Linked DNA regions of Homo sapiens: regions 1, 3, 4, 5, 6 and 7 are each linked to region 2. Evidence: promoter capture Hi-C in 16 types of primary human blood cells and fetal thymus (Javierre and others, 2016). All regions are on one chromosome and are shown on one strand. The core of a region is centred on a gene start or on the middle of the fragment in contact, and the rest is flanking DNA. Distances in the headings are between cores, read along the strand shown. Region 1 overlaps MB21D2 (Mab-21 domain containing 2). Region 2 holds the start of OPA1 (OPA1 mitochondrial dynamin like GTPase). Region 3 has its middle 17 kb from the start of CPN2. Region 4 overlaps MB21D2 (Mab-21 domain containing 2). Region 5 holds the start of ATP13A3 (ATPase 13A3). Region 6 overlaps ATP13A3 (ATPase 13A3). Region 7 overlaps MB21D2 (Mab-21 domain containing 2).

What was found. Contacts are between HindIII fragments. The CHiCAGO score rates a contact against its expected background, and 5 or more counts as called.
Region 1: a fragment that was not itself captured here is called in contact with the fragment with the promoter of OPA1 in region 2 in 4 of 17 cell types (M0 macrophages, M1 macrophages, M2 macrophages and 1 more); the score reaches 25.2 in M0 macrophages.
Region 3: a fragment that was not itself captured here is called in contact with the fragment with the promoter of OPA1 in region 2 in 7 of 17 cell types (fetal thymus, total B cells, non-activated CD4 T cells and 4 more); the score reaches 7.9 in fetal thymus.
Region 4: a contact is called between a fragment that was not itself captured here and the fragment with the promoter of OPA1 in region 2, in 3 of 17 cell types (endothelial precursors, M0 macrophages and M2 macrophages). The highest score is 10.6, in endothelial precursors.
Region 5: a contact is called between a fragment that was not itself captured here and the fragment with the promoter of OPA1 in region 2, in 4 of 17 cell types (fetal thymus, naive CD8 T cells, total CD4 T cells and 1 more). The highest score is 8.2, in fetal thymus.
Region 6: a contact is called between a fragment that was not itself captured here and the fragment with the promoter of OPA1 in region 2, in 3 of 17 cell types (naive CD8 T cells, naive CD4 T cells and total CD4 T cells). The highest score is 5.9, in naive CD8 T cells.
Region 7: a contact is called between a fragment that was not itself captured here and the fragment with the promoter of OPA1 in region 2, in 6 of 17 cell types (M0 macrophages, M2 macrophages, M1 macrophages and 3 more). The highest score is 27.0, in M0 macrophages.

What each region holds. Positions count from the first base shown.
Region 1 is chr3:192,840,094-192,843,649 of GRCh38, forward strand. All of the region lies in intron 1 of MB21D2 (Mab-21 domain containing 2), which reads right to left. Among named protein-coding and RNA genes, the nearest start is that of MB21D2, 76 kb to the right of the region's middle. RefSeq lists an enhancer at 438-487. The HindIII fragment of the contact is 1,604 bases long and covers 809-2,412 here.
Region 2 is chr3:193,591,261-193,594,631 of GRCh38, forward strand. It overlaps OPA1 (OPA1 mitochondrial dynamin like GTPase), which reads left to right and starts at 1,948. Exons shown (of 31, transcript NM_130837.3): 1 at 1,948-2,149. The coding sequence starts at 2,118. It also overlaps a transcript of ATP13A4 not described here. RefSeq lists enhancers at 1,610-2,261, 1,657-1,726, 1,777-1,826, 2,262-2,913, 2,427-2,506 and a silencer at 2,047-2,196. The HindIII fragment of the contact is 1,567 bases long and covers 1,387-2,953 here.
Region 3 is chr3:194,331,980-194,335,869 of GRCh38, forward strand. No RefSeq gene overlaps it. Among named protein-coding and RNA genes, the nearest start is that of CPN2, 17 kb to the right of the region's middle. The HindIII fragment of the contact is 1,634 bases long and covers 902-2,535 here.
Region 4 is chr3:192,796,509-192,799,918 of GRCh38, forward strand. MB21D2 (Mab-21 domain containing 2) reads right to left here. Exons shown (of 2, transcript NM_178496.4): 2 at 307-3,142. The coding sequence ends at 1,878. Among named protein-coding and RNA genes, the nearest start is that of FGF12, 71 kb to the left of the region's middle. The HindIII fragment of the contact is 2,206 bases long and covers 909-3,114 here.
Region 5 is chr3:194,484,931-194,488,249 of GRCh38, forward strand. It overlaps ATP13A3 (ATPase 13A3), which reads right to left and starts at 2,072. Exons shown (of 34, transcript NM_001367549.1): 1 at 1,636-2,072; 2 at 864-905. ATP13A3-DT (ATP13A3 divergent transcript) reads left to right here and starts at 2,210. Exons shown (of 2, transcript NR_033929.1): 1 at 2,210-2,242; 2 at 2,526-3,319. RefSeq lists silencers at 1,312-1,371, 1,462-1,511, 1,542-2,201 and an enhancer at 2,872-3,091. The HindIII fragment of the contact is 1,515 bases long and covers 941-2,455 here.
Region 6 is chr3:194,403,113-194,406,436 of GRCh38, forward strand. ATP13A3 (ATPase 13A3) reads right to left here. Exons shown (of 34, transcript NM_001367549.1): 34 at 1-3,004. The coding sequence ends at 2,807. Among named protein-coding and RNA genes, the nearest start is that of GP5, 5.5 kb to the left of the region's middle. The HindIII fragment of the contact is 2,692 bases long and covers 160-2,851 here.
Region 7 is chr3:192,819,095-192,822,779 of GRCh38, forward strand. The region is part of intron 1 of MB21D2 (Mab-21 domain containing 2); the gene reads right to left. Among named protein-coding and RNA genes, the nearest start is that of FGF12, 93 kb to the left of the region's middle. The HindIII fragment of the contact is 6,078 bases long and covers 1-3,685 here.

The DNA of each region.
Region 1 (3,556 bases), core at 361-2,860, 750 kb before region 2:
AAAGAGATATCTTTAGCCAATAAGCCAAAAATCTAAAGATCATTATAAGTCTAATGTCCCCTGCAGATATAAAAGATGATCATGAGAGGGAACACAAAAATTCGAGGCGTTCAAGTTTCAGAAAGCCACCTGCAGTGTTCCCCTTTCTGCAGAAAAGGGCAAATAACTGAAATTAGAAACATACATATTACACATTTTCAAAGTCAACCAAAAGGACCAGTATTTTGTTCAAAATGAAAAAGAAAATCAAAGCTCCTTTATTGAATTCAACCACCGTAACTTTGTGCTTGGGAGTATGACAAAGACTTTTTTCTCTTTTTTCTTTTTTTTTTTTTTTTTTTTTTTTTGCTTTTCCTAGAACCTCCCTCTGAAGCTAAGTCGTGGTATCCAGAGAGCGTTATTGGGAGAGTTCCCAATTTAGTTTCCAGCGCAATCCCTCTAAGCCTAGAAAACTCAGAGACTGTTCGCAAGAGCATCACTTGTTAGAAACAGATGAGTGAGGCGCTATGGTAGAAAGTTTCTCGTGGTGGGAGGTGACCAGCTGAATCTCCCCAGATGACTTAATGAGAAAAAAACTGCTAAAACATGGTATTCATATGGGCCTCTTAAGCTCCCTTGATCAGTAGAACAGTCAGATAAATCAGAGGCTTTGGATAGGCAACTGCTGAACAGATGAAGACCAGGAAGATGAGGTTTTAGTTGGTTAAGACAACTTCTTGGAAACTTTTCCCGCCTGAAGATTGTTACACACAAATACTTCCCTGCAATCATTGGGAGCTTCCAAGTTGTTCCTTTTAATTAACACCAAAGCTTATAGACAAGAGGCAGGTTGTGGAAAATATTTTATAGAAAGCAAAATCAGCATACCATTTGTATAGTGGACAGAACATGGGTTTTAGATTTAAAGACCTAGGAGTGAATTCACATGTTCTGTCACATAGTAGTTGACTGACTTAGATAACCAATCCTTCCAGGCACCAGTTACCTCTATCTCTTAAAAAAGGAGGAGAGGGCAACACATTATTTTGAAAACAAAATAATTATCTACATGAAAAGCACTTTGGATGAAGTAAGGGAACCACACAGTCAATGAGACCAGCCTGCAAACTTAAACAGTGCCAGGCTAGCTGGCAAAACAGAACACATGCATGCTAAAACAATATAAGGCAGGTGTAGCAGCCAGCCTGCCAGGTGGCCCCTAACAACCCCACCTTCGGGTATTCACACCCTTAAGTAGTCACCTCTCACCTTGTATCAAAGGTAGCAGTCAGTGTAACAAATAAGCGTGATGGTTTTTACATCCAAGATTGGGTTATAAAAGGCATTGCAGCTTCAATCTTAGTCTTTTGTCTGTCTGTCTTTCTCTCATCACTCACTTTAGAAAAGCCATCTGACATGATGTTGAGTAGCGCTATGGGGAGGACAAAGTGAAGAAGAAGTGAGATCTCCTGCCAAGAGCCTCACAGGCGAGCTTGGAAGTGGATACTCCAGCCCAGTCAAGTGTTCCAAAGGCTGCGGCTCTGGCCGATAGCTTGAACACAACCTTATGAGCAACTCTGAGCCAGAGCCACCTGCTAAGCCACTCCCAGATTCCTGACCCTCGGAAACTATGGGAGATAATATGTATTTGTTGTTTTACAGTGTGGAGTAATCTGTTACACAGCAATAGGTAACTAATAATACATTAGGCTTCGCTAGGAGTTGCTAGGGTTTGGAAGAGCAAGAAATCCCTAAAGGTTAGGGGTTCTTTGTCAAAGGAACATGTTTTGAAGGAAGGATGAGTTTGTAAGAAGTGGTAGAGTGTAATATGCTGTAGACATGAGTAGAAGTGAACCAGGCAGAGGGGTGAGAGGGTTTCAGAAAAGCTCCGTGGGCAGTGGGTCAAGAGCCAGGGATGGCAGGCCAGAGTGTCTACGCTTTATACAGGCAATGGAGCACAAGCAGGGTGCTTGAGCAAGGAGATGACTGGGAAGTAGCTAGGAGGGCGCCACTCGGGGGGCATATAAAAGATGAAATAGCTGTTGTAAAACCAGAGGCAGAGAGGTCAACCAGGAGCCTTCTGTAACGACCCTGTGGGGGAAATAAAGAGCTGAACTGGGGCACAGCTGAAGTAGGAATGGATTGAAGAGATGAATGGGAAGTACGGCAGGAACATGGTCTACCACGTTGAACACTGGCCTCCCACGGCTGCCCGTCAGAGCCAGAGGTTTCTAACCACTCACTTGGTCATTGAATATGTGTGCATATTTAGTTCTGTGCCTGAGGACAAAGCTACCACAGGACACATTTTTCAGTCAAAGCACCACCATTCATGCATATAACATGCTGTTCTGGTATACAATGCATTGCACCACAAAATTAATGCCATAAATATTGTAGACGTTATAGACACAAAATTATAGTAACTATGTAAGCTTCGTTTCCTCTTAAATCAACTCGGCCACAAGAACTGACTCCAAATTACACTATCTTTAATAAAATGAAGCCAACTAATAATAATGATAATAAAAGAGAACACATGGAAGTAATACAGAGAAAATTCAAAAAATAATCCTTTATAACACTGACAGGTCTGAGGAGGAAAGGCCTGAAGAACAATATTAGTATTATCAATCTCATCAAGTCATCCTATGTAACAAAAGAAAAATCATCAATGGAGATTCAAGGAACATTCAGATCCAGGGATTTTTTGGTTCTTTGGGAAGTGGACACGGTCCAATTACTCCAAGGTTGTCACATCCACTGTGCATGTTAAGTGCAGTTAGGGCCATTCTTGTGGAAATTATGGCAGGAAAACTGACAAAAGGACCCTAGCCTTTGGCAGACTGTGTCTTTGACTAACAGAAGTCTTAAGAGACTGGAGGTAAAGAAGTTATCATGCCCTTGGGGTGAAAAGAGCACATGTGGCCTTTCCTTCCCAGATACACAAGGTTAGTGCCCAGCTAGCTTAGAATGCATGGGAGGTCTTTTAGCCTACACTCATTTTGTAGTTAGGAAAATTGAGGCTGAGAAAGTTAAAGCTACTAGCTCAGGTCACAGAGCCTGAAGATTACATGAGGGCTAGCATCCAGATTTACTAAGGGAATAACATGATTCAACCCTGGACAGGGAGAGGCTCAATCACCCACATTGGGAGCTTGCTAAAGGATCCTCTGTCACTAAGTTAGTCCTGTCAGTGGAACTACAAAAGACAAGTGCTGAAAGAAAGCTCCTTTCTGTCTTTGACATGTCAGAGTGGAATGCTCATCAGCTTTCTTATGAGGAACAAGTGCTAAGAACCCAGCTTGAGTAAGCTATGCTTCTCTGCTTGCTATGATCAGACAAGGAGACTGTCATCACAGCGTAGAGGCCAGTCCTGCTAACATCATACTGTGCTGGGACCACAGAGATGCTCAGCAAGCGTCCTTTTAGATTAAAAAGCAATAGAGGTAGGGACATTTGCTCATGAAAGTTGGACATGATAAATTCACAGAAATATAAACATATCTCTACTTGGGAAACAGTGACGTCTGTATACAGTATGTACATATAAATAGCAAGACAGCTGGGTCAGGGA
Region 2 (3,371 bases), core at 698-3,197:
CTGACCTCGTGATCTGCCTTCCTCGGCCTCCCAAAGTGCTGGGATTACAGGCATAAGCCGCCATGCCCAGCCCAAATGTAGTGTTATTTTTAAAACACTGCATAGGCCAACACTGTCTAAACCAAACAAAACAGGTCTGTGGGCTGAATTTGGTCCAATGGTTGCAGTTTATTATACAACAGTTTGCCCTTTTTTCATGGCAACACTATGTATCTATGGGAGATCATTCCTTATCAGGACATACAGACCTAAAGCATAGGTTTTCATGGCTAGTACGGATGTAATTTATGTGTCTAGTTCCTATACATGGACATTTATACTGATTCCAATCTTTTCCCATTTCATACAGTGCAGAAATAAACATCATCATGCATACATCTTTGCATACATGGGAATGATTCCACAGGATAAATGCCTAGAAGTAGAACTGCAAAACAAGGGCTTCATAAAACATATGATAACCATATATAAATGGTGATGGTGGTTAGTTTCTCCTTTTTTTATGGTTAAAGTCTTTTATCCCTAATTTTTCTTTTTTGTTGTTGTTGTTAAAGTCTCTTGGTTTCTCTTATTTTATTTTCTAAAATAACAAGGAAGTAACGATTACAAAGACACTTTTTGTACAACCCTACAATCCCAGGAAGATCTACAGTTTGCACAGGTTGGTACAGCAAATTGCTCTCTGGACCTGCCATTGAAACAGTCACCACAATAAATAAAGAAAATTCTAAGAGTCCTGCATTTGGGAAGTTTACTATCAATGGCTAGGTCTACTCTTGGTGGTATTGTGAGTGCATGGGTCCAGACTTATGATTCTGACAATTAAGGGAAAAGGAATTGTCTTTATGCTCTGTGTATTTGTGTATGTGTGTGGCATGGGTGGGGGGCGGGTAGTGGGGAGGAGGTGAAAGGTCCCTGAAGTAAAGAGGATGCACAGGACCCTTTTATTTTAGTCCCTAAAAATTGGCTTCATAACCGTTCACAGGCCACATCCCTTTTACGGGCCCTGGTTTCCTTACAAAACATAAAAGGTTTGTGTTGGAAGGGGAAAGGAGTATTTAAAGTGATGGAGGAGAGGAGCTCAAGATGGCTGAGATCTGGGCCTGTCCAACATTGAGAAATTTGGGAGGGGAGCCATCAAAGAAGCCTGGGAGCAGCAGTTCCAGGGAAAAAGGAGAATGTGATGGCCAGAGAGCCAAAAGAAAAAGTAGTTGAAGGAGTGCTCAGCACTAGGCATCTGAACTGAATGCTGTGGCAGGCTCACTGGCCACAAACAATAGGGAGCTGGTGGAGGCCTTGACGAGGACCATTTCAACAAACTGGTGGGCTTAAAATCCGGAAGAAACAGTTGAACAAATCATTTTGACGCCTTTTATAAACCACACAAGCTTATTCCAAACCCGTTACTGGCCTAACTGATTTAAGTCCCTTTCCCATCTGATCCTCAGAGATTCTAAGGGACTTAGCCTATCCATGACTCTTCGTCCTGCTTCTCACCTCCCATGATTGCCCTAACGATGTGAAAGTGCTTTCAAACAAAGATGCCCAAGAAAGAAGGTAGGCAAATGTGCAAGCATTAGTTTGTAGTACGCTATTACTGTATTTCACCTTGCACTCTCTAGTTTCCTTCGTGCTCCCTCAATATCCAACTCTTAATAAATTCATGGCTCCCGGTGAGCATTCATCAATTCTCATTCCACGCCTTTAGCCCTTCCCGTTCCCGCCCAACTCTCGCTCCCTCCCCTGGCCAAATCTCTAACCTGCAAGGCTAATTCCGAATTCCAAATCGGAAGCAAGAGGGCGGGGCCCCGTGAGAGGCGATGGATTGCTCCAGTCCGTTCCCGACGCACTGTGCGCATGCGCTGGTCCTCCGCGGACCGTTCGTGCTGCCCGCCTAGAAAGGGTGAAGTGGTTGTTTCCGTGACGGACTGAGTACGGGTGCCTGTCAGGCTCTTGCGGAAGTCCATGCGCCATTGGGAGGGCCTCGGCCGCGGCTCTGTGCCCTTGCTGCTGAGGGCCACTTCCTGGGTCATTCCTGGACCGGGAGCCGGGCTGGGGCTCACACGGGGGCTCCCGCGTGGCCGTCTCGGCGCCTGCGTGACCTCCCCGCCGGCGGGATGTGGCGACTACGTCGGGCCGCTGTGGCCTGGTAAGTGCAGGCTCTAATCTGGCCCCGTTAATTCTGGGGCCTCTTGAGAGTGGGGCTGTCTTATCTCTATCTCCAAAAATGTGCAGGTGACTCTCAGGCCAGGCCGACGGCAGTTGGAGAATTCCCAGATGTTCTTGAGGACCCAGAATGACAGGAGCCCTGGCTGGGCTTACGTTCGGAGCCGGCTTCAATACTGGCCCTTTTCTCTGGCCCTACCCAACCCGAAAATTCTGGACGCCTCTCAATCTTGGCCCGTCTCTATTGTCCTTTTGTCTCTGCCCTTTACACCCTTGTGTCTTCAGTGTTCTGTCTGTCTCTGGTTGCCTCTTTTGCCTTTTTTCTGTCCTCTCCCTGCCAGGTTTGGCTCTGTCCATGAGTCACCTCTCTCCACATTTCTCCTAACTCTCGGTGTCTTCTTTTTCTTCCATTTCCACGCCATGTGTACATTGCATCTTCAGGTACCTGGGCTCTTCTATCGGGGAAAGGGGCGTCCGTCTCTTTCCCTAGCCCGCTGATAGAAGTCAGAACTAGAGCAATGACGCACACGGTGTCAGAGACGGTGATTCGAGATGCCCTTTCAATAGCAGCTTTTTTCTGTGTTTCGGGAGGGAGACTTACTTTTTGATGCAAGGTCGTGAACGTGGCACCACCTTTCTAATCTCAATCATTGTTGCCCTGGGGTGGTTTAATTCTAAATAGAAAATCATAGAAATCTTTTCATTTCTGTGCGTTACTATATGCATTGTAATGAGATTAAATTGGATTTTATAGGAAATTTTGTTCTAGTATCATTAGATACCTTCAAGCTTAGCTCATTGTTGCAGGCATTTGATAGGAAGTAAGATGCATCAAGCAAAATTGGAAAAACGTGGTTTTCCTGAATTAACTTCTAAGCAGTTGTTTTGAATTTTTTCCAGACCTTTTTAAGTGGTATAGATAATTTATCGTGTTTATAAGGAATGGAATGCATTCGTTAGTTTGTTTTTGTTTTGTTTTGAGACGGAGTCTTGCTCTGTCGTCCAGGCTGGAGTGCAGTAGCGCTATCTCGGCTCACTGCAACCTCCGCCTCCCAGGTTCAAGCAATTCTCCTGTCTCCGCCTCCGGAGTAGCTGGAATTACAGGCACGCGCCAGCACGCCTAGCTAATTTTTGTATTTTTAGTAGAGAGGGGGTTTCACCATTTTGGCCAGGCTGGTCTCGAACTCCTGACCTCATGTGATCCA
Region 3 (3,890 bases), core at 469-2,968, 740 kb after region 2:
AGTCAGTTTATCATCACTGAGCAAACCAGTGGGCAAGGAGAATGCAGAGAAGGTTCTTGAGGGGCCAGGCTGGACAGCTGCAGTCTGCGCTGAGTGGCGGCCAAGGGGTTCCGCTGCCCCCAGAGTGCTGAGAGTTTGGGCTCTGGCTGGGCCCCACCCTGGGGAGGTGCCCACCATCCTCCAGGCCAAGTGAGGGGGTGGGTGCCTGCTGGAGAGGCGGCACACCTCAGACGGCTGGAGCAGGAGGTGGGGCATCCACACGTCCACCCAGGCTTTCAGCCCCTAGTTACTCAGTGAAGATTTTGAGGCCTGGAGAGAGGGGGCGTGGCTTGTTCACAGACACAGGTCGCAAGTGAGGCAGAGCGGGTGCCACAAATCAGGCTTCCTAACTGTGATGTTCAATTTTAGGTGTCAACCTGAGTGAGCCACAGGGTACCCTGATGACACACACCGTTCCCAGGTGTGTCTCTGAGGGCGTTTCCCGATGACATTGACATTTGGAAAGGTGGACTCAGCACAGCAGATCCGCTCCCCAGCCAGGGCAGGCACCACCCAATCCACTGAGGGCCTGAGTGAACAAAAAGGCAGAGGAAGGAGTAACTGCCCCGCGTCTTCCTGCCTCACTGCTGGAGCGGGGACATCTCATCTCCTGCCTTTGCACCGGGATTTATATCATCAGATCCCCTGGTTCTTAGGTCTTGGGACTTGGATGGAATTACACCACCGCCTTCCCTGGGTCTCCAGCTTGCAGAACCTGAGATCTCTCAGCCTCTGCAATTGCATGAGCCAATTCCTATCTATCTATCATCTCTTGTTGGTTCTTTTTGGCTGGAGAACAGACTAATACACGAATCTGTCCTTTCCCTCCAAATGCAGCTGGAATCTCTGCTCCCCTTTACAAAGCTTCTCTGCGAAAGGATCTCTCACGCCATGGTGGGAAGGGGAGCCTCAGACCCATAGCCTCCACCCCGGGAGGAAAACAGGGCCAGGACACACCAGCAGGCCTCCTTTGATGAAGACCATGTGGTTTTGCTCCTTCTGTTACTTTGACCTCTGAACCGCACCCCCACAGACCTAATGATTTCCTGGTAAATCATTTGTAACACCCGCTTTAGTCTCCTGAAAAAAAACTTCACAGATAATATCGTCAAACCTCGCAGAGAATTTAAAAATAAAACCTTCTATCTGTAATATTAATTAGAAGTCAAAGGTAACTTATAATAAAAGAATTCGTTTCCATGTGGAATGTTTGGCCAAGATCTCACTAACAGACTGGAAGTCACTGTCACTCACTCACGATGAGTAAAGGATGAATTTGTGTCCGTGTTTGACATTTTGCAATCAGGGCTAAGCATTGCCTCGGGATAAAGATTCCCAAAGTGCTGAACAACTCTTGATAAAATCCCAAAGAAAACAAAGCACAGTCTTCCCAGGATGCACGTTGCCAGGTGCGGTCCTGAACCGCGCGTCCACGTGGCAGCAGCGCGCAGCAGGAGGCTCCCAGCTGAGATCCTCGAGGACGGGGTTCGTACCACATCGGCATCTGGAGGTCGCAGGGGACGCTTGGAAGCCGTGGAGGGCGCGGGACGAGTCACTGTGCAGGACCGCGGCAGCGCGGGGACAATCTGGAGCGCCCCGAACGCTTCGCCGCCCCACCGGGTGGCGGGTGGACTCGCCTCCGCCCGGCGGCTCCTCGGTGCATGGGCCCCAAGCGGACCTGGCGCTTTTTCAGGCGTGCAGGAGACAGAAGCCGTGACGGCTCCGCACGCACGCCCGCATGCACTCCGGCAAGTATCCCCCGGGTCACCGTGTCAATGTGCCCGTATCCCTTCTAGGGGACCCGGTTCTGACTTTCCAAGAATAAAGTACCGCGCCGCGCCCGCGGGCGGAGCTGGGAGAACCCCTCCCTGGCCCTCCACGTCTGCGCGGGGCGCGTTCTTCCGTGCGACCACAAGGGGGCGCTCCGAGACCAGGCTCGGGACCTCTGCAGGCGCAGACTTAAAATGCTTGCAGATGCGCGCGTGGTGGAAGCAGGCTGAGAGGGCCAGAAAGCATTCGTCCTTGGACTCGCATCGCGCTAGACAGTCTAATCTTTGACGGCACCGTCCAGTTTTCCAATATCCACTGTTAGCACTGAACAATTGTGTCAATTGCATTTCCAATCCTCCTAAACAATGCAATTTTGATATATAAACAGCAGTTTTTACGTTCTTCCAGAAACAGATCAACGGGAACAGGTAAAACAATTGGCCGGTGCTTGCCTACCCCGTCCGCACCCACACCCACAGTTCTCTCTAGAATAATACTAACAAAAATAATAATGCAAGATAACGATTTTGGAGAACGTACCATGTGTCATTGTTGTGGGTACTTTATATGGATGCACTTATTTTATCTTCACCAATAACACTATGAGGTGGGTGCTATGTGATAAAACTATGGTGAGGACACTGAGCCACAGACAGCTTAGTAATTTGCCGAGGGCTGCATGACTGGCAAGTAGCAGGACATCACTAAAGAAGGTACAACATTCAAAGCTTCCTGGAAGAGCGTCCTGCCTGCTGGAAGGAGGAGCTTTGGAATGTCTTAGCCATCCTTTACTATAAGAAAGCGAGGCAGGCCGGTGGCGGTGGCTCACGCCTGTAATCCCAGCACTTTGGGAGGCCAAGGCGGACGGATCACGTAATCAAGAGATCAAGACCATCCTGGCCAACATGTTGAAACCCTGTCTCTACTAAAAATACAAAAATTAGCTGGGCATGGTGGCACGTGCCTGTAGCCCCAGCTACTTGGGAGGCTGAGGCAGGAGAGTCGCTTGAACCCAGGAGGCAGAGGTTGCAGTGAGCCAAGATTGCACCACTGCACTCCAGCCTGGCAACAGAGGGAGACTCCATCTAAAAAAAAAAAAAAAAAAAAAAAAAAAAGCAAGGCAGAGCGCACCCCCAGCTGCTGTTTCTTCAAAAATGCAAGATTTATGAGAGCACTAATGCTGAAAAATTAAAAACATCGGCCGGGCGCGGTGGCTCATGCCTATAATCCCAGCACTTTGGGAGGCCGAGGCGGGCAGATTGCCTGAGGCCAGGAGTTCGTGACCAGCCTGGCCAACATAGCAAGAACCCATCTCTACTAAAAATACAAAAAAAAAATTAGCCGGGCGTGGTGGCGTGTCTGTAATCACAGCTACTCGGGAGGCTGAGGCAGGGGAACTGCTTGAACCAGGGAGGTAGAGGTTGCAGTGAGCCAAGATCGTGCCACTGCACTCCAGCCTGGGAGACAGAGTGAGACTCTATCTCAAAAAATAATAATAATAAAATACAATGAAAACATCAACAAGAAAGAAAAAAAATCCATGAAATATTTTTATACATGATGTTTGTCACTTGTTTCATTCATGAATTCATCCAGAGCAGACACCAGGTGGGTCTGAGGAGGCCAGCATTGCCCAGTGCAAATTACACTGAACCTAGCCCTGGACAGTGCCCGAGACAAAATTCTGCCTAAATGTTCAACCCTGGCCATGCGTTAGAATCGCTGGGGGAGATTTAAACAAAATGATATCTGGGTAACCCCAGTGTTAGGGAGGCAGGAGCCTAGAAGAGACAGAGTAAGATCGTCTGAAAATCAACTCCATCCCAAAGCTAGCAAGGCATATTCCTTGCCAATCATGACCCATGGTCCTAAGATGTTTACAGCTCAGGAAGCAGCTTGGGAATGGCTTGCAAGAACAAACCCCTACAACAACAGAGAGTCCAGGTGTCCCAGTACCCGCGCTGCGCCCAGGAGAAACTGAGATAAAACGAAGCCTCGGGAAGGGAAACCCCAGACGCTCGACTTTGTGACACAAAGGCCCCAGAGGGGAGGGTGGCTTTGCCTGCTCAGCACACATCATG
Region 4 (3,410 bases), core at 762-3,261, 790 kb before region 2:
GATGGTTTGTGCAGATCAGCTTTTCCAATTATGACGCGTTTTCAGCACTAGGGATGAAATCATTTCCTGAGAAGGACAAGGATGATGTGGCGGATAGACATTAGTAGTAAAACTGGGGAAAGAGGAAGACTGAATGTTGGTTGTTCACTATATGGACAACTGGTCCGAAAGACACTAGCAAGCCCATGGCTGTATTTATTGAAAATTGCTGTTAGTATAATACTAATAAGAAAATATACTAATATATAAATATACTAATATAATACTAATAAGAAAATAATTCCCAGATTACAAACAACAACAAAATTTCAAGGCCAGTATGTTTCTTTTTTTATTATTTTTGTGTTTGACTTAGATGGTTGAAATGTTTTCATTTTTCATTTATAAGCATTACATTAATTTCCATGCAAAAACCCAAGATCGCATATGTCTGATTTCAATTGGCCAAAATCCAACCCTTGAGTTTGGACATTCAAGACCAAAATGAACACGTTACTTGCCCTTTCTATGAGTAGACATCATGGGTGTCCTTTGAAAGATCAGCAGGCCTCCTGACCTCTTAAACACCAGCTTGCCATGAGTCCACACCAAAACAGGGAGCCAATACCTTCCAGCACCTAATCAGGCAAGTAACTTCACTCATGAAGACAGGACACCTCTATACCAAGGCTGCCACCCACAGATATTTCCTGGGTGCTGCTCTATAGCAATACCTGCTTTTGAACAGACGTGGTATCTTCTATTTGGGGATTATAAGTTCTTCCTGCCAGTTTTTCTCAAAACTCTCAGGAAGAGTAGAGATTTTACAAAAAAGCTTACCTCTATGACCCCAAAAGAAATAAATACAAAGACACCTACTTCATCAAGTGTATATTTTCCCCAGCTTTAGATGGGGTCAACATGTATAAAGCTTTAACAACTTCTCTCAGTAAGACAGGAACCAGGAATATCAAAGAGGGCAAAGCAGGACCCCACAACTGAAGGAGAACTAAGCAAATGCAAAGAATCATTTCACTGATAGAAATGGGCAAAATGAAAAAATGATAGAATTTCGAGAGTGGTTGTTAATTTATATTGAAACACACTTTGCAATTCTGACAATGGCAAAGATTAGTGCAAATAATAATTATAATGGTATGTTCTTTAATAGGATTTAAATAAGGCTTCAAATAATTACATATGCTAAAATTAACATTTGGAAACCTTAATTCTGCTTGGAAAACTGTCAAAGACACCCTTCAAACCACCCAGTGTTCTCTGATTTGAGGACAATTACATTCAATGAAGTTGCTCCAAAACACAATTTGTAGTATTATCACTTTCAAAGTTTACATTGTTTGGTGGAAAAGGGGGGAAACTACTCTGGTCACTGGCCAAAATAAATAAATCCAGCTAACATGCCAAGTAGTTCCCAGGTTCATATGATTCTCAAATATCAGTAGTGGTGAAAGCTCATAAGAAAAAAGACAAAAACAAAATAATAAAAATAATAGGATAGAATCGTTAAGCATCAGAAAGAGATTTGTTTCCCCATACCCATGAACAAATTTGCACCAAGTATGAAACAGAAAAAAGCAAGAGGATTCATGGGCATTTTCATCTATGGCTTAAGATCTCCTTAAAAAGAAAAAAAACTCCAACAAACTAAAGAGCATGACAATAACTACAAAAAGTAAACAACGAAATCAGAGGCAGAATATGAAATAGTAATATACTGTTTCAGAGCCTGCACCATCCTGCAGAACCAGGAAACTTAAAATTTGTTCTTAACAAATCCAATCTAGGCTGGATATGTAAAAAACAGAAAGATAGCATCACAAACCACACGACACATTATCAGAGTTTAAGAATCAGGAAAAAAAAAAGTCAGCTAACACTCAGAAAAATTTGTCATCAATTCTGAAATGGGGCCTTGTGACATCGTCAGGATTGATAAAGACAGAGATTGACTTTCCCGGGTTCTCAGTCACTAGCTGCTGCAGTTTTTTTGCCAAACGGTCATCAGGCTGGTTGGGGTCCCCTCCGTCAGACTGTGGAGAGGGGATGCTGGTGGTGCTACCTCGCCTCTGGAGCTCCAGTGTCAGCCGGTTGGCTGCCTTGACATGCTCAATGGCGGTGCGCAAGTGCTCTGCCGGGTCTGAGCGCACAGAGGACAGCTTCCGGGCGTGAAGCATGACTGTCTCCTCAGACAGATGTTCCAGCATGTTGCACTGAGGGATGAAATAATTGGGGCACATCTTGTTGACCAGACAGTGTTGCAGGTCATCGATGAGGCCCAGCAAAAAGTGGGCTGCATAGTCTTCTTGAGCCAAGTAGTTGGCAGGAAGTCTGTCGCAGGCCCAGAGCATCATGCTCCGCAGGTGATAGGGGCTAATAGCCTTGGGCCGGGACAGCAGTTTAATGATGATGGCTTTGCAGGCCTGATAGGCCTGCATGAGGCTGCTGGAGATGCACTTCTTCAACTGCACCTCGCTCCTGGCAAAGGACAGCCGCCATTCATTGTCCTTCTTACCCTTGTAGGAGCAAGCAGGCACCAAGTAAAACCCACTGATGACCTCTTCCTCAGTAATCTTCCCATCCCAAAAGTGGTTCTCCATGAGCCAGCTCTGGGCCACTGCAGGCCAACCTTTGAAAGATACCACAGGGACAATATCATACAACATGCGACTACTCCCTACACCCAGAATGATGGAGATGATGGTCCCATTTTTTTCCACCTTTTCTACCTTTGGCATCCCTCGCTGGGGTTTCTTCTGTATTTCTGATAGGACAATGCTGATAGAGTCATAGAACCAGTCAGCCACTTTGGTAGGTGAGAAGAAGTAGTTGGTGGCACCATTGATGTGATCTACAATGGTGCAGCAGTCTTTCCATTTACTGATTGTCCCCTCATCAAAGAGCCGAAGGCTCAGCCAAGAGTGGCACAAGGCTGAGTGGCGCATGTCGAGTGTCACAGGCTGATTACGGTCATGCAGCTTGAGGGCTGGCACCAAGAGGGTAAAGTCCATATCATAGTCAGTACCCCGGGCATAGACATTAAGCTCATCTAAGTCCAGGTCCACCACGCCTTCCCGGACACCTCCAGAGAGCAACAGGTATTCATTAGCCACTGGAAGCTTTTGGTCCAGCTTTTGCACCATTCCTGGAAATAAAGAAGAAAAAAACAACACTATTACAGGAAACACAGACATAAGAGTCTTATGCATGAAACAGAATGCTCTGATGTTCCAAGAACCAAAACTCATTATCAGTACTAAATCAAATCTCAGGCTGCTGCAGAGACCTGGCCAACAGTACTTTCTCACTAGTGCTAGAATCCACCCTTTTCCAAATGCAAGAATTATGATAGATTTTTCTCTCTCAGTGTGAAAAGCAGTATCGTTTTCAATAATAAAACAGGGCCCCTCTTC
Region 5 (3,319 bases), core at 448-2,947, 890 kb after region 2:
CCTGAAATCCCAGCTACTTAGGAGGCTGCGACAGGAGAATCGCTGAAACCCAGGAGGCAGAAGTTACAGTGAGCCGAGTTCACACCACTGCACTCCAGCCTGGGCAACAGAGCAAGATGCCATCTCAAAAAAAAAAAAAAAAATTTAAAGCAACCAAATAGTGTCACTTTTCCTACCCAATCCCCTGACCAAAGCCAGGCATTGTTGTTCTAACAAGGCTCAAAATCTCAATTATTTCACTCTCTGCCTGATCTAATGGTAGGATAATGCAAATCAAAGATACCAGCAAAAGTTATGTTCTACAACAATCATTAATAATAGGTTTACTACTTCGAACAACTTCCAAGCACTGATTTGCCTTAAAGGGGTTGCAAACCAGGATGAGATGCCCACACACATTGATTTTTGGCAACTGTAGTCTATTAAGCAAAGCAACAAACCTCTAGAGAAAATAATGTCACATATATTCCAGTGAAACAAAATTAATACATGTACCTTGGTAAAGAGGCTGAGCTCTAACCAAAGATAGAGCACTGTTCATTACGTACTCACCCTTCAAAGGAATCAAATCGAAACACTTTCATTTTAACAACGATACTTTTTAAAGGCTTTATTTTGCAATAATCTTTCAAGTCCCTGCATTTCTTAGATTCCTTAAATTCTAACTTCCTGCCTCATAGATCTAAAGTAGCCATGACATACCCAGGTATGTTCTACTCATTTAGTTAGAATCGTATAGAGGAACACAAGTCTGTTTCTAGGTGTACGACTCCACACCCATTCATTTTGCACTAATATAACCACTAAATATAGCTCTAAGACACTGATGATTAAAAGCGGCTAATTATGTGAGTGATTCATACCTCCTATGTCCAAACACCAAGATTCAGGGATGTCTGTCAGATCTATGGGAAGAGGAAACAATAAACACCTGTCACAAAGCTTCTTCCACACCGGGAAGCCCCCAGCTGAGTTCCTGCCAATCCCAACCCGATTCCCTCCCCCTTCATCCCTACCCCTCACCTCCCCAAAAAAGCCAGAGGTCATACTTCCACCAGAACCTGACTCTGTGAAGGGAATGGAGAGACAGAAAGGCCATAGCGAGAGTGGCCACGAGAGCACTGCTAGGGCAAAGGGCCCTGGGTTTTTCTAGTCCTCACTGCCACAGAGTCCGAGTGGGAGGCCTCAGGCAAGTCAGAAGTCACTTTTCCTCCACGGGACTCACTCCTTTTATCTGTGAAATGCGGAGATGGCAAGCAGCTCCATACTCCACGGCTGAGGACGAGCTAGGGTCCCGCACAGACTCATCGAGGGCCCTGCCAGCACCCCTACGCCTCTGCCCACAGGACCTCCACCTCCCACAGGACTTTCCGAAAGCTCTGACTACCAACCACCAAGCGCCCGGCCCCCACGCTCGCCCCCGGCAGGCGGCGCGTCCCCCCCAGGCCTTCGCACCCACCGCGTGGGCTCCTGCCCTGGCCTCACCTGCCCCCGACACTCCCCGTCCCCGCGATGCCCAACTCCGGCCCGAGAAGGCTGGCCGCGACCTCGCCCGGTACCCGCCGCCCCGACACCACCATTCGCCTCCTCGACCTCCCCCGGCGCCGCTGCCCACCCGCCCCTCGCCCCGCTCACCGGGGCCGCTCACTGGCCGCCGCCGCGCCGCCTCCTCCGCGGCCTCCCTCGCGGCCGGACCAGCCCCAGGGACCGCGGGGGACCCGGCCGCCGCTGTCGCCGCCGCCGCCTCGCCTCAGCCCAGCCCCATCGCCCTCGGCCGGCGCCGCGCGCTGCGGCTCAGGGTGAGGGAAGGAGGCGCCGCGGCGGGGCCGGGCCGGCCCTGGGACGTCCGCGCTCTCCTCCTCCTCCGCGCCCGCGGCGGCGGCGTGCAGCCGGCAGGGCGAGAACAAGGGAGGGCGGCGGGAGGTGGGCAGGGGAGGGGGGCGGTCTGCACTCCGAAACGGCCCCCCCGCCGCCAGCGACGTAGAGAACCCCCCTCCCCTCCGCGGCGGCGCCCGATCACGCTGCGGGGAGAGCCGGCAGGCAGGCGGGGGAGCGCGCGCGGGCTCAGGACTCCCGCGCCGGATGTGAGGTCACGTGGTGGCTTCATCCCCGCGCGGAGGGCGGAGGGGCGCGGGCGACGTCAGGAGGCGGGGAAGGGGCGGGGAGGGGCGGGGCGATTTATAGGCCCCGCCCACCCATCGCCTTTGCCACCCTCGAACGGGCAAAAGAAAGAAAGAGGCAGGTAAGGGGAGGCGAGGCCGTCCAAAAACGCTGGGTGTCAGCCCGGGGTGGCTAATGGAGGGCGGCTTTTCTGGTGGGATGAAATGGAACGGCAAATCCCACTTCATCCCCTTTGGGCTATGACAACATCATAGTCCAATCTCCCATTTTATGAACAGGGAAACTGAGGCTCAGTGACTAGACAGACGTTGCCCAGAGTCATGGTCATGGAGGAAGCTTGTGCTAGAATGGTGGAGAGGAAACCAGAGCCCAGCTCCTAATGCAAGGCTCTTTCATTCCTTTAGCCACCCTCGCCCCCGCCAAAACAAACAGACAAAAAACTGTCATTCTCATATGACCACGGACTCTGCGCCCCGGCCGCAGGCGGAGGACAGGGAGGAGCGCACACGAGAAAGCTCCCACGCGCCCGCGCCTCGCCTCCGACGGGAAGGCGCCTCTTCCGACCGTCCTGGATGCAAATTAAATACTTCCCTCCGCAGAAGACTTATCTCGGGGTAGGGCCGCAGCCGGATTTCCAAATCGCGGGTTTGATTTTCGCTGCGTCCTCTCCGCGACGCGCGCAGGGAGCGCGCCCGGCCACCTGCAGCCTCTGGCTGCGGCCATCTTTCCGCCTGGGGCCACCTGGCCTGCGCCCTTTGTGCCCGGCCCGCTCCGTGACTGTTCTTCTTGCCGCTACTTACAGAACTCAGCCGCCTTAGCGTCTTAGAGAAGAGGACGGCATGCATGCGGACCCCGTCCACCACACCTGGAGAGCAGGGAGCCCTTAGTCCCTGGACACTTACCAGGGCCGCCACCCCTGGTCCACGCACGTGATGACATCTCACCAGGGGCAGCACACCGCCCGAGTCCGCGACACTGATAACACCTCCTGCGGGCAGGAGGGCGCCACAGCCACCCCTGGTCCCCTAGATTGTGTGAGGCTAGCATTTCTGCCCGCCTCTTGGCGTGGACAGCACGCTGGACCGAGATGGAACCACAGCTTTCTCTTCCCAATCCCTGGCCTCACCGTTTTGTTTCATACCTCACCGTTTGTTTCAAACCTCGTGGTGTTGAAATGATTAAATGAGATTAAGGGGTG
Region 6 (3,324 bases), core at 256-2,755, 810 kb after region 2:
ATAATGTTATCTATAGCTGTTTCTGTAACAGACTACATAAACATTGATATATTATTTACCATGCCTTTGAAACTGTGCAGGACTTTCATAAACATGGGGAACAAAATAAATAGAGTAAAAACTGCAACAGTTTTGTTTAGATGCAAGTGCAATTGGGAAAGCTTTCGAATTTCAGGATTATAAAACTACTATAAAAGTATTTATTCTGTTGTTGGCTTAGCCACTTGTATTCAAGCATTATTTGCAGCATTGCTTTACAGCAGTTGGTGCTAGAAGATACAAAACATATAGTTACCACTATTTATACTTGAGGGAGAAAAAAAACTTTAAACAACCCTGAGGGAGACACACATTAAAAATCTTGTTATTTATTTAAAAAGTTAAAAAGTTACATATCATTATTTAACAATTACTTTCCCAGACATTTCTGTCCTTTAAGTATGTGCATAAATAAAATTTAAATCAGCAATATTCATCTTAATACATCAAAATAATATATGTACAGATTTTAAAATTTAGGTCTGTATAAACTCAAATAATTTAATGTGAAATTCAGAATCAAAATTACTATGTAATGGTAACCTACGAGAGAAGACTCAGTCTATCTATGGCACTGAGTAGAACCCACACCTGGCTTCACAGGCATTCTTCAAATAACATTCTCAACGTGAATAACCCACCTTGTCTATATTCAAATCTAACTTCCTACAAATGCTTTTCCAGCCACCTAAACACCTCATTCCTTTGAAAACAATATGGACAGAAGAGATATAAAACCCTTACTAACTCTAAATGTTAAAAAAGTGGGGGGGGGGTGTCAAAAATAGCTCTTTATGATCATGCTCTTAAAGATGTTAAATACAATCGGATAATTGAATTTTTAAGCTGCTACTTAGCAATTACTTTCATTATATGCTTCAGTACTTAAACCAAAGAATAAAATGCACAATTGTGGAAATCACTGAAGAATAACACGAGCATATTTGAAATTAATATGGAAATTATAAAATGATCCAGAGAATAAGTAACTATAGAAAATAGTGCTAATTCACAGCTCAAGAGGTCTAAGATGCATAGCTTCATAGAATCATTCATGGAACAACTGTTATCATCTAATGTGTATTAATAGCATATTATACATTTGATGGAAAACTTCGATTATATTTTTGCAGGAATCATCAGTGGCAATAGCAGTAACAGTGATCCTGAGTGTAATTTCTATTTTTCTATAGTTACCAAACATCATCCAGGTCTTTGCAGCATAAAGAGTGAGAACCATTTGGTCCTAAAATTCTAGGTAAAATTTGGTAAATTTGTAAATATATGTTGGGAAAAGAATGATCAGCTAGAAGTAGAAAGCACGAGCAAGCATGTTACTGGCTCTGGAAGAACAGAGAACAATGTCACACTGTTTTCATAGTTTAGCGTCCATTTTATAGCACGATCAGTTTTCTGTGTTGTGGTAACTGTGGGCGTTGCCAGACTGCTGGATCCACCTATAAAAGGTGTTTTTTAAAAGTTACCTTAATTTTGGCAAGAATTTAAATGTTAATCAGGCCAAACAGAAAGGTGAAAAATGTTTCTCCACATCTCTTTTGGCTCAATGAATGTCAATTTTTTAACTTTATTTCCTCAATTTTTTTTCTCCCAGAAATTTCCGCATCAAATATGCTCATTTGTAACGATCCAATTCAAAATAGACATGTTCTGACCTCTGGCGCCACCTAATGGCATAAAACAAACTCATCAAATTCATATTGCTTTGAAAAAACGGCAGCCATTCAAATCCAGTATTTTTTAAGCCTCATTATTGATAAGACAGAGACATACATCAAACCTCAAAAAATTTTATGAGGTAAAATTCTAACTTAAAAAAAACTATTATCCTATGTCTTTAGGTAATTGAAAACATAGAAGAAAATTTTAAAAAACCATTTAAAATAACACAAAGCCTGACAGAAACAAATTTGAAGAAACGTTAAAAGATGAATCTACATCTACTGCCGAAAGAAATGAATCTTATTTCCTAGTGAAAAAGGTTCTACAACATTTAACAGAAGCAAATTAGACTGCCAACACCACACATAGCACAGGAGCCATTTAAGAGCTTTGAGAGGCGTCTCAAGAAGGCAGTGAAGCACCTTGCTGATTAGAAAAATAAAACCCAGGCAGTTTGTACAGAAAATATAAAACCAGAAATGGAGATTACCTGAGTTGTTCTATAAGCAACACCATAAACACTCATTCCTAACTCTAGACCATCATAGGGAATTGGCATATGTTTATACAGAATTCTTTGGAAGAAACATTGGAATCAAATGAAAACAGGCTTTCAGTATATTTTCACTGGAGGCTAATTAACACTCATCTTCTTTTTATCAATCACAAACTTACAGCCTGTATATAAACACAGACTTTTCTAACAAGAGGGTTGTGAGCATAAATGTGAAGAGGTAAACTAGTCTCAAAAACTAATGTTGAAAAACCTACCAAACACCAAACTTCTCCTGTACCCAATATAAAGAATATCACTGAAAGTAACAATCAAGAAAATTCTGGAAATGTATGTAATATTTGGGTTGCTGAATGAAGATATAGGACTTTATGGATTGATTGTTAATTTAACTGTTAGGACGATATATTTTTCTGTTTTTATTTTAAGGAAGAGCAAAGCTGTCAAATAAGCTACTATATCAGAAGGGACATAAACTGAACTAGTGCCATTCTGACACACAGGATCAGAAACTCCTAAAATCACATATTCCTGAATACTGCTATCAGCAATACCACTGAGACTGATTCACTGCTATGTTATGGTGATGATTTGACATGATCCATTCTCCTTAACTAAAGCTTTAGCTTCTGTGGTTGTCTGAGGTTTTGGTGGCCATTCTGGATCAACCAAGAGCTCCTGCGCCAGATACATGTACTTTGCCTTTGGTGTCTTCTTTCTACAGCCCAGGGCCCAGGGTAAGCAGCATTTTCCCCACCGATCCACTGACTCCTAAGAAAATAAGAAAAAAACAAAACAAAACACCCCAGTTGATTAAAGGCTTGTCGTTTTAAACAGGTTTGTTAAAGCACACATTAGCAGAGAAAAATAAGAGGAAATGACTTCTGAGCACAACGAATGGGGGAAAAAAAAATCCATGTTAAAAAAAGGCAGCTTTGGCCGGGCGTGGTGGCTCATGTCCGAAATCCCAGCATCTTGGGAGGTCGAGGTGGGAGGACTGCTTGAGCCCAGGAGTTCGAGACCAGCCTGGGCAACACAACGAAATGTGTGTTCTTTTGTTTTATTTTGTAAGGGCAGCTTTCAATTATTTA
Region 7 (3,685 bases), core at 779-3,278, 770 kb before region 2:
GAGCATGTCTGAAGAATGCTAGATCCCAGGGCTCCTGAAGAGGGAGAGGCCATCCGGGGGCAAAAGTGAAGGGAGAAGAAAAGAGAGATAGGAATCAATGTTTACAGAGTATCTGCTAAGGCCCAGTTATATATTAAGATTTACATGCAAAAATCTTTGAGACTTAATCCTCAATTGACAAGAAAAGAAAGTCAGGCTCAGTGGTGAAGGGGTTTGCCCACGGTGACTAACACAGGGTTGCCTGAATCCAAAACACTGGCTTTTCACGGCAAGGGTGGTTTCCAAACCTAGCACAAGGGCTGGGCCTCCGGAGAAGCCCTGTAATTAGTGGAGGGTGAAGGTGGAAGATGAAGTGCAAGGAAAGAATGTGACAGTCAAGTGAGCAGAACCTGGGCCTCCCACCCCCGCTTCGACCACTTGGATCGGTTTTACTTATTGGGCTTCCTCTTATGCTTCTATTTGAGGGAAGAGTCCTATAGTTTTAAAAGGGAGATGGAGAAAGGGTTAGAAAATCACTGCATCATATCAAGCTGCCTATTTCCCAATTCTGCCTGAGGCTGGCCCCTCAGCAGAAAAATAAATCAGTGCTTACAAAAGATCTTCTATGCAGACCACTGCTGGAGTGGTCCCCAAGTCCCCTCTCTAATCATTCCAAAGCTGTCTAAAAAGACTTTACTTTTCGCCAACTGTACTCACTTGTTCAACTATTTTTACCCATTTCCAGGTACTCCAGCTTGGGAGGCACCTGACATCCATCTGTGAAAGTGCAGGCAGCTTGGAGAGCAGGCCCTGCAGCTCCTGCTCTGGGGACAAGCTCTGCATCCCAAGCTCTGAACCTGAAGCAGGACACCCAGGGCCTAGTCCTGGTGCTCCCTACAAGGGGGTAGGGGAATCAGCTCCTCTCCCTAGGTTTCTGTTTCCTTGGCTACCAAGTAAGTTGGGTGGAATACATGGTTTTTAATGTCCTTTCTGACTTTCAGGACTCTATACATAAATAAGTGTGTTTGTGTTTCTGTGGGGAGAGAAAGGGGAGGGAGATGCGATATTAAGAGTGAGTTTGTATAACAGCAAGTCAGAGCTAAGATGTATAAAAGTACACACCCCCCAGAAACACACAGAGGTGTATGCAGAACCTTCAGACAGATTTCTCTAAAATTTATGAGTATCATGAAACAGATTGTAAAAAAGAAAACTATGACATTATGAACGCTGATCTAACTTAAGCACAAAGAGCAAAGTAGACCTTTAACTCCCCCGAGATAACAACTTCGGATAATACAAAATGTAATTTCAGATCTTTCCAAAGGCCTTTCAAAGTCCAGGGATGAGGTTCTGTGTTGCAGGGAAAGGACTCGTACAGAAGTTTTGTTAAAATGATTAGAAAGAAAATAACAGGCACTGGATTTACAGCCAGTCTCTGGGCAATGAATGATTTGTCACCTTTTTCTTCTGTTATTGATTCTCGCCTATAGACAGACGAGGAATGACTGCTGATGAAAGCGTCTGCGTAGCGGCCACTCAGACTGTGTCAAATATTCCTCCGGCGTCCCGCCCCGGGCTCTCTCTGCAAAGGCCCAACCTCCTCACAGATGCTCCGCTGCCTCGTTCAGCCAGCATCTGGAGGTACAACTTCTGACTACCTAACTCGCGCTCCACCCTGTTTTCCATCCCCCCAAATCTTATTTTCTGACACAGGGGCTCGCTCTGTCACCCAGGCTGAAATGCAACGGTGTGATCACGGCTCACTCCAGCCTCAAACTCTTGGGCTCAAGCAATCCTCTCACCTCAGCCTTTTGAGTAATCAGGACTACAGGCGGTGCCACCACACCCAGCTTTTTTTTATATATATTTTTTGTAGAGATGAGGTCTCGCTATGTTGCTGAGGCTAGTCCCGAACTCCTGGCCTCAAGCCATCCTTCACACCCATCCCTCACAAATCCATTTTAAACAAACAAACAGAACATTACGTACCCTTCAAATAACAATGAACACATCGTTTATTTGACTAATGCTGCTGCCTTCCTGATATTGCTAATGTCACTATCCACCACCACCTGGGCTCTTAATAACATCACTCATTTACTGGGCACCTACTTTGGGCCAAAAGGTTTCTTGTGAATTGTTATTAATCTTTATAATGCCCTCTTATGATGAAGACCTTGAGGTTAAATAAATGCTCAAAGTTACATAGTCAGTGGATCTGATAGCTGAACCAAGCTCTCTGACTCCAAAGGTAGGGTTGACTCACAAACATTTCATCCAGGTCAGTAGTGTGAACTATCCACACCTGCTCCCACCTCATTCCTCAACCTCATCTCACAACTTCGCTATTGCCCTGGGAGACCGCAGAGCACCTGCAGCTTTCAAACACTATGGGATCCAGAAATGAAGGAAGCTGGGAGATCCAGGCACAAGCAGGGAGCACCAAACCTAGAGGCAAGTTCTCAGTCCAGAATTTTCTGCCCCTTCCCTCTCTTCTTGCCTAATTCTACCAATTAGGTTCATTGTCACGATTAAAAGGGAAACTGGAAATTGCTTTCTGGAAGTTAAGGCGCTAATTAACATTTACTCTTTGGTTTAAATGTCTGGAATTGGAGAACAACATTCTTAACGCAGCAAAGAACACCAGCCCTGCCACAGTGGGAGTTGGATTCAGAGTTGACTGAGTGATTTGGAGGTCTACAAAGTGCCATGATGGGCCGTCAGGGTCCTGGAAGGTCCTGAGGACAGAAGTAGGAGACAGGGAGGCAGCAAGAGGCAGCACCCAGGAAACCCTTTGTCAATTTCAAAACTGTGCTCAATTTTTTTCTCTTCCTCTTCCTTTCCCTCCCCTCCTATACAGCCTCCTACTCCCCAAACCCAAGATAATAGGATGAGTACTGCATTCCGGTTGCAAACTGAGTTAAAATGGCACCTGTGAACCCAGGCATTATTTGAAATATCTTTACATGGAAATACGTGATCTGATTCTAAACAAACAAGTGTATACCTATCGCATTTCTAAATGTGAGGGAGCTATTATTCACAGCAAGTCCCTGAGAAGCTAATTAAATGTGCCACAAACAAGCATAACAGTCCAACAGAAAAAAGGCGGGGTGGGGGTGGGAGGTTGGAATGGGGCATCTGCTTAAAGTTTTCATTCCTAATAAGAGATGTTTCTAAATTGAGTTGAAGAGAGCTTGTGATACATTGGAGAGTCACTTACACTGTTTCACTTCAATTACTGGTTTCTCCCCAAAATAAGATTCAACAGAAAAGGTGACAGGAGTTCACCTCAGATACCAGTCTCAACAGGCATGGAGGCAGAGACTTCATTAATAGTATAGGAACTCACCAAGTAACTTTATTCCTCCCACCCCTTTTGGATATCCACATAGAAGTTCTAATAGATGTAAGAGCAAATGCAAATCACTGGCATTGTAAAGAATAAGGTCCACCACGGGGAAGTGCTACTGGGGACCACGAGGAAGCATGAAGGCCAAAACTTAGAAAGAGTCTGACCTATTCCCGATGAGCCAGTGATTTTTCCCCGTGGCCATGGTCAGGTCACTGTATCCTTTACGGCTTTTGCTTTTCTGCGTGCAAAACAGAAATATTCCACTGATCACATTCATTCACTTTGTAACTGCACAGACCCTTAGAACATCTAATGTAACTGCTTCCTTGTATGGATGAGAACACTGAA